Linked DNA regions of Homo sapiens: region 2 is linked to region 1. Evidence: promoter capture Hi-C in 16 types of primary human blood cells and fetal thymus (Javierre and others, 2016). All regions are on one chromosome and are shown on one strand. The core of a region is centred on a gene start or on the middle of the fragment in contact, and the rest is flanking DNA. Distances in the headings are between cores, read along the strand shown.

Region 1 (5,951 bases), core at 571-3,070:
CCCCTCCTTTATCACTGCTGTTGCTGCCATTGTTGATGACATGATGTGGAAGGGCAGTGAGAAATTTGATACTTGTTCATCTATCTGTTGGACTCAACTAGTAGTGTTGCTTTAGTTTTTAATCTTTTTATCTGAAACGGAGAGTCTATTATAATTTGTCATTTTATTCATTGCAGCGGTTGTGGAACAGGAAATGAAAAAGGACTGGCTTTTTGCCCCTCATTATCGATACTATGTAAGAGAAATGAGAATTCATGCATACAGTCAGCTGCTGGAATCATATAGGTCATTAACCCTTGGCTATATGGCAGAAGCGTTTGGTGTTGGTGTGGAATTCATTGATCAGTAAGTTTGAATAATGCCATGTTAATTGAAGTTTTAAAGTTGCCTTTTAAAATATGTGAACTTGTACAATTTTTTACTTGTTTACATTGGTTCCCTCAATCTTAACGGGGAGGGGAGAGGTTTTTTTCCTCAGTATTATCAAAACATTCGTATCCTGTTGCCTCTGCCTTCCTCATGTCATGTCTGCCCCTTGCATTAACAGATGGGAAGATGAGTTGTAGTGAGGCTAAGTGATTTGTTAAAGGTCATTAGACCAGTTGTTATCAAAAGTTGTCTTCTGTTACTTCTTTGTAGACCACACTGCAGCTACGGTAATGACTCTTAGATCTGATATTTACAGTTGGTCATATTCCCTCTGATAATTCCTTCCAGTTTTTAGGTTGCTGCTGCAATTCTGGTCAGATTGGTTGTTAAATGTGGGACTTTTAGTACTTGCATCAGTGATTAAACAAATAAATACTTAATGAGCCATTCATTACTATATGTTTGGTATTGTTTTACAGCTCCCTTTTCACACTTTCATTGTAGTAGTAGGGAAGAGATGGCAAGGAAGCAAATAAATATAAAACGTAATTTCACATATAGAAATGAACCTATGGAGATGAGAAAATGCTATCCTTACGTACGGCATGCTTAAGGAGGTGAGGTTTGCTCTGAGATTTGAATTGAGAGGAGTCAGCCATATGGAGTCCTTCTGCGTGCAGAAAAGGGAATAGAAAAGGCTAAGGCTTTGAGCCAGGAATAAGCTTGGATGTTGTAGGAACAGAAAATGTCAGGGTGGCTCCAGCATAGTTGGAGTGGTAGGAGATTTTGAGGATAATATATGGAGAGTTAGGTAGGTAATGATTTGTGTAGGGCCTTGTAGGTCATGGGATGGAGCTTGAGTTTTAAGTAAGTTTGATAGGGAGCCATTGGAAGATTTAGAGCCCAAGTTACATGGTCCTATGCAGTGTCTTTATATAAGAAATAGAGTAAGGTGGCAGAGAGGACCAGTTGTGCTGTTTAGTAGCTCTTAGAGGAGATGTTACCGTGGCGTGGACGAGGGTGGTGAGAGTAGAGTTGGGTAGGAGACATACTCAATATGGGATGTCCAGATGGCATCTAGATCAGTGGCTCCCACATGTAGGTGTTTTTAAATGTTGATGATGGTGTTTTCAATGGTCTGCAGTGGAAACTTTAAATGAAGATGCATTTCTTTTAAATAAGACCATTCTCTTTCTAGTATTTTTTAAATTTCGAACATCCATAAAATTGTAAAGAAAGAATTGTACAGTACATTTTAACATATTTGCTTGTTACAATCTATACATTTTATGTTTTTTAACCACTTCAAAGTAAGTTTCAGACACCAACACATTTTTTAAATGATCCCTACCATTTTTTAAATGATCCCTACCAAAATGGAAGGCTGGTATCCCAAGGTTTTGTTCCATTTCTCAATTCTAGTCTGTGAAATTGAAGTCTGATGACCACTCTTAAGAGGGCTGTTCATTAGGGTGCGGGCTGGGCATTATGAGTGTGTTTTTCATGAGTCAGTGGAAGGAGGGGCTTGTTGTGAGCAGTGCATGAGAAAAACGGCTTGGCTTTGCTTCTTTTTCCAGCTCTGTGGCCTTGGTCAGGTTACGTCTCTTCAGTATCGTAACTGTAATGTGGAGATAAAGCCTTCATTAGTTAGGGGCACACACCGCAGTATTCCTTAAGTCATCTTGATGACAAGTGAATGCAAGGCAGCTGGTACCTTTCAGGTAGTAGTTGAATTCAGGTAGTATTTGTTCAGTTTTTTTTTTTTCCCTTCATGTTCTAAGACCAGCTTGAGAGGCAAAGGTTGTACCACTGAGCTCTAGTTGTTGTTACCTAAAAAGGCCTTGTTTTAAATTTCTGTGATACCTAAGAATTTCAAATCTGGGTTGTCATGGATTCTTTATTCTTTTTTTCTCCCTTAAAAAGTTACATTTTAGATGAAATCCCCTTTTTTAAAATGGGCAAAGCAATAATTCTACATCATTTCTCCCCTTCCCTTCCACTTGTTTAGACTAAGATATGTTAGAGAGGGAAAGGGTCGTTGTTTTAGTAAATACTATTGCTGTTGACATGTTAATACTATTGCTGTTGACATGTTTACTGATGGGCTGTGTTCCATAATTTTGTTTTAGGTCTTTTGTTTGAAACAGTTTACTGTTTTTATCAGTTTTGGTCCCTAATTTTTCCTAACCTACAGTTTTTCTCTGAGTACATATGGTTTCATTGTTTGATCTACTTTCTATCTATCTGAATATGAACTTCTAGGATCATGTTTATTCTAGTAGATGATGACTTAAAGCCTGCAGTATAGGAGGGACAACGTCAACTACTGCATGTGCAATAACAAGCTTGAAGGGAAGCTAAATGTTTGTTACAAATTTAAGACAGTATTTTAATGCCGTTTGCATTTTTCTAAGAATTTTCTATAAAGCTAATTCTGTTATTTTTTGTCTCTAAATTAGGGAACTGTCCAGGTTTATTGCTGCCGGGAGACTACACTGCAAAATAGATAAAGTGAATGAAATAGTAGAAACCAACAGGTACTCTCATTTCTCAGAATAAGGGGCATTCCTAAATTTTAAAAGTAGGTCAACTATTGTCATGGAATAATGTGACTGGTAAATAATTCATTTTTTCTTGAATTTATTTATAGACCTGATAGCAAGAACTGGCAGTACCAAGAAACTATCAAGAAAGGAGATCTGCTACTAAACAGAGTTCAAAAACTTTCCAGAGTAATTAATATGTAAAGCCATGTAACTAACAAAGGATTTGCTTTAGAGATAATTATTTGGAATTTTTATAGCTTACTTCACAATGTGCCCAGGTCAGCTGTATAAAATAAATACTGCATTGTTGTTTCTTTCCATTTATTTTTTTCTTAAACACATAGGCCTTCTAGAATCGGGTCCACTTATGTTAAAATAATGTCACTTGAATTATTCATTAATGAAAATCTGGTTTATAGGGTAAGGTTGCAGCTGGGTTCAGCTAGGTTCAGCTCCTGACTGCCTCATCAGTAAAATACGTCAGTAAAATACGGATGTTGACACAGCCCATTATCGCTTACCTTTAAATCTCTTACCTGTAAGCTTCCCGATTTTAGAAAGAAGAGTAGTGGCCTAAAATTAAACAAACAGTGTCTCCCACTTTTAGTATACAAAAGATAGAAGATAAAGAAAATGTGTAATAAGCTTTCCCTCAGAAACAAGTAACCATATAAGGCAGGAAGTTACTCTTTTTTAGGAAGCTGACATAACCTGGATTACAGAATCTACCAAGGCTGATCTCAGTTTTCTAAAACCTTATATGTAAGTATTTATTAGCAAACTGAATCTTTTTTCCAAAAGTAGGACCATAGTAATAATAGCAGTGAGGAAAACAAAGTTGTTCCTCTGTTTGTTTGAAACAGTTTATTAGTTTTATCAGTTTTATTCAGTGTGTCAGATAGGAATAAGTGCTATAAGAAGTATAAAACCAGATAGACAGACAGATAGATAGATAGATAGATAGAGATACAGGGTATAGGCCGTCTTCTGAGGTGTTGTGGAAGGCTTCTATGGTAAGGTGACATTTAAGTGAAAAGGAGGGAGAGCCCATGAACGTATGGAGGGAAGAAAGACGAGGAAAGTCACTGGCAATTTTAAGTGCGGATTTGGCTTACCTTTTACGTCTCACTTACGGCATTCGGTGGCATGGATTGTACAGGCAGCTGGATTTGCTAAAAGATTGAAGAATGGGGTGAGGAGGATGAGGGGGAGAAAATTTGTCAGAGGAGATCCTAGGCTTTTTGGCTTAAGTGAAAGACAGCTAGTGACCTTAATGAGCAGTTTTGGTAGAGGTGAGTTCAGAAGAGAATGGGAAATGGCATTTTACTGTAAAAGGCAAGGGAAGGAAAGAAGAGTTTTGAGTTTTTTTGCTTTAAATAACATTTACTGATGGGAATGATTCCTGTTAACATATTAGGAATAACATATTCCTAATATGGAATTCCTAACAGGAATAACATACTCCTGTTAACATGATCTCATTTGATTGAAAATAATTTGATATAATTCAACATTTCTTCATGATAAAAAAACTCTTCAGTAGACTATGAATAATAGGTTGGGATATCAAAGCCCTATCACAAGGTAATTAATGGCAAAATATTAGAAGCATTATCTTAAAAGTGAAGACAGCAGCTCTCATCGCTGGAAGAAGAGCCATTGGTTGTATGCCAAGGAAAGCAATGTGGCTAGATCTCTGTTTTGAAAGGAGTTTCCTGTAGGCACTGTATTGTGGAGGGGAGGCTTTTAAAATGCTGACTATGCCTAATGTATTTGAGAATATCCACCTATGAATTTCTAAAAATGCTTATCTAGAAAACATTTCTTAAAGGAAAAAAACCTCAGCTTTTTGGTTTTCTACAGAAAACCAAAGCTAGTCAGGAATGCAAAGGTGGCTTCTGAATGCTACAGAGTTGCAGTTGTTCACCCACAGGCGGCAATTGACACACCCTAAATACTTTTCCAAGAAAAAAATTTATAGTTACCACGTAAAAGTTGACAGTTTAAAAACCACATATCTAGCTTCTCTGGAAAAAGGACAGGTGAAGCTAAATCTGGACTCACGCTCCAATAAGCTGAGCGACAAGCATAGCGTGTTTTCCAGTGTGCCCCAGTCCACCCAGTCTGTTCATATACACTGCCTGTCTGCCTGGCCCCTGCTGGCATTTGAGCTTGTTATCCCTGCACTACCCCCAATATTGTGCATGTGAGGTTGATGGTTAACAGCCTCCTGTGTTAATCAACTAAGACAGGGGTGTCCCATCTTTTGGCTTCCCTGGGCCACACTGGAAGAATTGTCTTGGGTGACACAAAATACGCTAAGGATAGCTGATGAGCTCAAAACAAAACAGCTCATAATGTTTTAAGAAAACTTACAAATGTGTGTTGGGCCACATTCAAAGCTGTTGTGGGCTCTGGGTTGGACAAGCTTGAGCTAGGAGAAACTATCCAAAGAATTCCTAACCTTTATCCTGTCTCTAGTAGCTTTAACTGGTACAGCTTGTTTTCTGAAAGTCTTAATTTTCTGCTTTTATTCAAGAAGGTTACTTCACAATATGAAAATAAGATTATGAAATGATGCTAAAACAGTTATACATAGTTCCTTTTTCATGTTGGTAAATGTTTTCTTTTGAAGTGGGAAACAATCTTATTTTTAACCCTGGTTTCAGTCAAAAGTAACTATCCTAGTGTGAAATGATATCGCCAGGATAAACTATCTTTTGTGATTATTTTTAAAGCAGAAATGCCAGTTTCTCTTACCTCAGTAAAAGTTGATTTTATAGCAAATCTATCGAGTAAGAGCTAAATATTTTAAAGCTATGTCAAATTATGGTAATCTATTTCCTGTATTAGAAATAACAGCTTTAGGTCAATTTTTAAGCTATTAAAAAACAGTGTCTCTTAGGACAGAAACAGTGTAAAAACCACTTTTGTTAAGCACCCAACTTTTACCTGCCCCAGATGGCTAGAAGGATGCCTACAACTTGATCACTAAGCATGCAATACTCAATACACTTAGGATTTTGTGACTGAACA
Region 2 (5,951 bases), core at 2,196-4,695, 150 kb after region 1:
CGGGAGCCCGGGCTGCAGCCGGGGCCGCCGCCGGCCGCCAAGCCTCGCCCCAACTCGCGCCGGCCGCGGCCGCCCCCGGGGAGTACCGGGAGCGCGGGGAGCGCGGGTCCCGCGGCGGCGGCGGCGGCGGCGGCGGCGCGGCGCGGCGCGGCTCAGGCGTCGGAGCAGGCGGCCGCGGGCGCCGCCGCCTCCTCCTCCATGGCTGTTTACCCGGCTGCATTGTGGGAGTTTGACCTCCGCCGCCGCCAACCGCCGCCTCAGCTTGCGCCGCCGCCGCCGCCGCCGCCGCCGCGCACGCCATGGGAGCCGTGACTGACGGTGAGGCCCCGCTCGCCGCCACACGCGCCCGCTGCACGGCCCGCTGGGCCTCCCCTGAGACCCCTGGCCTCCCGGCCCGCTTCCGGGAACCCCTCGGCCTCCCCGGCCTCTTCGCCAGAGCGCTTCGGCCTTCCCGACCTCTCCCCGGAGCCCCGGGCCTCCCCGGCTGCTTCCCTGAGTCCTTCCTCCTCTCGCCAGAGCCCGAGCGCCCCTCGGAGACCCTCGGCTTTCCCCGTCCGCTCTCCCGGAGGCAGCGCGGGGCTATAGGGTGTGCCGGGAGCGTGGTCGGTGGGCTGGGAACACACGTGGGTGGCCGAGACGGCTAGAAGCGGTGCAAGGGCGGGTGGGACCAGAGGGAGTCCGGGTTTGTCTAGGGGCGCGGTGAGGACCCAGGAGCCGCGAAGGGTGGACAGTGGTGCCGGGCTTAGGGCTGGGGGCCTGGAAGGTTTGTGGAGGTCTGGGAGGGAGTGGGAGCTCCAGGGACGGGGCGGGAATTTCGGGACTCGTCTACAAGGGGTGTCAGGATACAGAGCGTGACACCAGGAGGGGTCCTGGGGCATATTGGGAAGCACTCACAGACAGTGGAGTCGATGGCAATGAGGCCTTGAACTGCGAGTGGATTGTGGGTGAGAAGGAGGAGCAGGGAATTATTTATAAAAGGAATAGATAGGGATGAGGTATCCGGAGGGTGATCAGGAAGTGTACCTGGGAGATTTACGGGGGTAAGGAGGAGCCAGTATAGTGATGAGACCGTCTAGGGTAGATCAGGACGATAAAAGATGTATGTGTGTGTGTTAGGAAGGGTGGTTGTCAGCTGGGATGAATTTAGAGGGGCAAAGGCTGGGTTTGTGGACAGTCTAAGGGAGATGGTCTATGGACTGAGAGCGGAAATAAGGTGACACTTTGGGGGAAGGGGCATGATTGGCAACTGGAGGGAGAACCTACAAGGTATCTGGTTAGGGAGGAAGGAGGTCCTTTGATATCTGGGAAGGGGATATCTAGGGCTCTTGGGTGTTTTTCAGGAGATGGTGACCGGTAACTGTAAATGCCTGTGGAGAGGCCACTTCTTAAGAGTTGAAGACCACCAGGGTCTCCACATTAAAGGGCCTGGCCATGGGAAGAACAGTGATAGGCCCAAATTTCCAGACTGATAAAGAGTAGTGGAGGTGGGAGGCTACTAAAGACCCAGGAACTTCATGTGGAATTTCAGCTTTGCTTCATTCCAGTTTCATTTATTTAGTGGATATTTATCCTTCCTGGACTAGGCTTTGGGATTACAACCCAGAACTAACAAGCAAGAACTTTTCCCTCTCCAAAATTTTGGTCTGAAGGGAAAGAAACATTGACTAATGAGTTTTAAGAGTGACAAATATTACCACAAGGAAGTACAAGGTTGGGAACTGTAGGAACATGTAACAAAGATTATTTATCCAATCAATGGAAATGAGAAAGCCTCCTCGAAGTTAATCCCATTTTTGAAGAATAAATAGATATTGGACTGGTGTTCTGGGTTGGTAGCCACTTGTATAAAGACCCCAAGATGTTGGAAGAACTCAAAGCTGACAAGTATTGCTAGAATTTAGAAAGTTATGAGCCAGAGATCTCTAAGGGCAATAGGAATCCATTAAAAGTTTTAACACTGGTGTGGTGTTAATCAGATTGGCATTAAAACACACACACATGCCGGGCACAGTGGCTCACGCCTGTAATCCCAACACTTTGGGAGGCCAAGGCAGGCGGACCTCTTGAGCTCAGAAGTTCAAGACCAGCCTGGAAAACATAGTGAGACCCCATGTCTACAAATACAAAAAAATTGGTCTGGCACAGTGGCACACACCTGTAGTCCCAGGACTTGGGAGTCTGAGGAGAAAGGATCACTTGAGCCTGGGAGGTTGAGGCTGCAGTGAGCCAAGATCGCGCCAGTGCACTCCAGTCTGGGTGACAGAGTGAGACCGTGTCTCATTAAAAAAAAAAAAAACACACACACACATACACACTGTCTCTGTTATGTGCAGAATGATTAGAGGAAGAGAAAATGAGGAGCTAAGTTTCCTCGCCACTTACTAACGTTTACGTAGTGCTGTTAGGTATTATTCTAATTGTTATCCCCATTTTACAGATGAAACAGACACAGGTTAGCTTGCCTAAGGTCGCACAGATAGTAGTTATAGAGGGTCAAAGGCAGGGAGACCACCTGCCGAGTTCCTGCTCTTCACTATTATGCGTCCTGTGTCTGCTACTTCTGCAGTGGCCCTGGTGAGAGACAATGAGGACTGTGACCAAGAGGGAATGCAAAGAGGACAGGTGGGAGGGAAATAGGGAAATTTGTGAGGTAGAATGTCAGGACTTCAGGTATTGAATGGATGGTGGGAGAAGGGATTTAGGATGATCCCAGGTTTTTGACTTCACTGTGTGCCTGTTAGTGCTACTTTTCTATTTATTGAGATTGAGATGTCCAAAGGAGCAACAGGCTTTGTCAGATGGGAGATAGGGACAGAAGATGAGTTCTAAAGTAATGACTGCAGTCAAGTGCCCCCCCACATCCTTAAAAGCCACAGGAATCTCTACCCTGCCACTTACAGACTGTCTCAGCTTCAGTCTCTGAACGGAGATAATAATAAAATCCACATCAGCGGATTGTTTTGAGGATTAAACACAAAAAGTTGTAAAGGGCTTTGCATTGAGTCCAACACATAATAATTAATATTCAGTAAATATTAATGTCAGAGTTGTTTTACTAATCTGTCTTCCACTTTCCTTTGATGTGGACTTTGCCTTCTCTCTTAATCTGCACAGGTTGCCTTTTCCTGCCTTTTCTATCAGGTGACACTCCACTTATTCCTCAAGACCCACCTCAAAAATCCCCTCTTTTCTTTCCTAGAAGTAGTTGACCTTCTGCCTACTAGCCATATTATTTTATGCATATTGCTGCTGTCACCCTTAATACGTTATTTATATGCCTTATGCTAGAAAACATTTAAGGCAGTTCACTGTAATGAGAAAATATAAAAATTAAACGGATTAGAAAACAAGACAAAAAGAACATTGAGATTAGGAAAAATAAAGGGAAGTCAGAAGTGGGGTGATCCTCAAAATGCAGGAGGATAAAGTCTAGTACATTAATTAACCAAGCTGTAAGTGACCTGTTTCTCCAGTAGGCCATTCTGAGAGGCAGGACCTCGTCTGCTCTGTGATCTAGTGTTCATGAGAGAAGGCAATCTTAGATGCCCAGGAAAAGCACTTTTTTTTTCTGATTTGAACTAGAGGAAAAGTTTATCATTGAGGTCTTTATAAATGAAAGCCAGTGTCATATCCTTAACCTCTTTTCAGCACTGAAGATCATAGAGCTGTTTTGTAGCACATCCCTTGCTAGGTAAAAGAAGGCTAAATCACAATTTAGAAAGACATTCTAAAGCCAGTAGAGGCTGGGTGTGGTAGCTCACACCTGTAATCAATCTTAGCACTTTGGGATGCTAAGGCAGGAGGATCACGTGAGCCCAGGAGTTTGCGACCATCCTAAGCAACACAGCAAGACATGATCTATACTACAGAATTTTTCAAATTAGCCAGGCGTGTGTGGTGGTGTGCACCTGTAGTCTCAGCTACTCATCTCTACTAAAAATTTTCTTAAATTAGCCAGGTGGAGTGGAACACACCTGTAGGTAGTCCCAGCTACTCAGGAGGCTGAGGCAGGAGGATCACTTGAGCCCAGGAGTTTGAGGTTGCAACGAGCCATGATTGCACCACTGCACTCCAGCCTGTCAACAGTGCTAGACCCTGTCTAAAAATAAATAAATAAAATCAATGGACAATGTGGTTTAGGTGGGTAGTGGGTAGCTCTGCTGATCTGGCTTGATTCAAATCAGGGTTTTTTGATTGAATATCTAGACCATAGAGGAAAGACAAACTACAACTTCTTCAGACAATCCTCTATAAACATGGTTTTTGTCAGCTGAGCTTTTGAAAAAATCAAGCTGAAATGAGTGGTATGTGTGATCCGTCAACAAGTATTTATTGCATACCTTCTAGGCACAATGCGAGGTCCTGGCTACTTTGCAGTGAACTAGACAGAGGAGGGCCCTGGCCCCTGCTTTGGGGAAAGAAGCCATAGTGTGCAATCAAATAAGTAAATAAGATAATTTCTGAAAAGGAATGTAATTAAGTTCTGAGAATGAACTTGATGGAATGAGGACAGAGAGTAATGGGGGAGGGCAGTGATACCTGACAGGTTCAACCACATGAAGAGCCCAGGAAAGTATTCCAGATAGAGACAACAACTAGTGCAAAGGCCCGAGGTGAAAACAAGCTCTGCACCCTTTAGAGGAAATAAGGAAAGCCACTGGGCTGGATCTAGGGACAGGACTGCATCCAGGTGGGCCAAGAGGAGTACGATGCAAAAGGAGGTAAAAGGGAGCTCAGGAGGAGCCTTGCAGGCTTTGGAAAGGAGACTGAATTGTCCTTTGTGGGCATTTAGAAATGATAGGAGGATTGTAAGCAGGAGAGTTAGTGATCCAATTCATCTTTTAGATCATTCTGAGTTGCATAAAAAATGGATTCTAGGAAGGCAAGAATGGAAACAGGGAGTCCAATGCAAAATATTCCAGATGAGAGAAATGTGGGCTTGGATTAGAGCGATGTTAGTGTGGAAGATAGAAGTGGATGCTCTTGATATCTCATTCATCCTCCTGGAAAGCTCTTGGAGGAGTACCAGTACCTGTCCATGGAGCTTACATAAGAGCCAATGTCTTTTACAAATTTGATGTGCCTGTATCACTGTCCCTTCATGTAATCCATTCCTCTGGGTCTGCGTATCCAGTTGGACTGGGAGCTCTTGAAGAAGCAGCCCTTTATTTCCTGCACTCAGTTTGAGGAACTGCCCTGCTTTAGAGTAGCTATAGCTACTAGACTGGATATTTTCACCACTACTGTCATGTTATAAGTGAAAAAGTAGAGGTCTTTGGAAGTTAGTGACTTGCAGTCACACAGGTAGTTTGTGACAAAGCCATTTTCTCTCCTTCCCTTGTTGCCAACTCTAGCAGTCTGGCTAGCTGAAAAACAGTGTGGATGTTGTCACTGTTAATTTAAACTATGTTAACTGTATTTTGTATGTGTTAATTTAAAGGATGCTAAATATTGTTAGTACCCTGATAGAAATCATTTCAGAAGCACTTTTTGCACTACAGAGAACATTAGGTGATATATTGATATGCCAGAGCAACAGATGAGAGATGGAGAAAGGGGTTGGGGTGGAATGTGGCTCTACATTCTATTTAATAAAGCTTGCTGGTTTTGACGGTAGCTTTTTTTTTTAACTTAGAAAAATGTAATGCATGAATATGTACTTGTTGCAATGTGAAATAATGGTTTTTAATATGCCTACGAATAATATGACAGAATAATGGAGCTGCATTATGACTTTCTAATAATGTAATTGTATATATTTTTCTGTGAATGCAGAGGTGAGTAGTAACTCATCTGTGAAAGGAAGATAATAGTACACACTTTGTAGAGTTGTTTCAAGGATGAAACATGATAATATATGTAAAGCACTTTGAAGTTGAGTGACCATTTAATTTATTGTGTAAACCAGGACACTTTTCAGAGTGAAAAGAAACAAATGGGTTGTGTGGTCA

Evidence for each region. The method cuts DNA at HindIII sites, captures the fragments that hold promoters and counts their contacts. A CHiCAGO score of 5 or more calls a contact.
Region 2: a contact is called between the fragment with the promoter of THOC7-AS1 here and the fragment with the promoter of PSMD6-AS1 in region 1, in 15 of 17 cell types (total CD8 T cells, naive CD4 T cells, monocytes and 12 more). The highest score is 14.7, in total CD8 T cells.

What each region holds. Positions count from the first base shown.
Region 1 is chr3:64,007,833-64,013,783 of GRCh38, reverse strand. PSMD6-AS1 (PSMD6 antisense RNA 1) reads right to left here and starts at 1,820. Exons shown (of 2, transcript NR_189168.1): 1 at 1,742-1,820. It overlaps PSMD6 (proteasome 26S subunit, non-ATPase 6), which reads left to right. Exons shown (of 8, transcript NM_014814.3): 6 at 177-345; 7 at 2,829-2,906; 8 at 3,020-3,233. The coding sequence ends at 3,116. It overlaps PSMD6-AS2 (PSMD6 antisense RNA 2), which reads right to left. Exons shown (of 3, transcript NR_038286.1): 2 at 4,031-4,087; 3 at 1,541-1,987. The HindIII fragment of the contact is 1,623 bases long and covers 1,094-2,716 here.
Region 2 is chr3:63,858,139-63,864,089 of GRCh38, reverse strand. It overlaps THOC7-AS1 (THOC7 antisense RNA 1), which reads right to left and starts at 3,445. Exons shown (of 2, transcript NR_104326.1): 1 at 3,094-3,445; 2 at 2,271-2,591. THOC7 (THO complex subunit 7) reads left to right here and starts at 285. Exons shown (of 8, transcript NM_025075.4): 1 at 285-318. The coding sequence starts at 300. It overlaps ATXN7 (ataxin 7), which reads right to left and starts at 223. Exons shown (of 13, transcript NM_001377405.1): 1 at 1-223. RefSeq lists silencers at 1-16, 347-566. The HindIII fragment of the contact is 14,056 bases long and covers 1-5,599 here.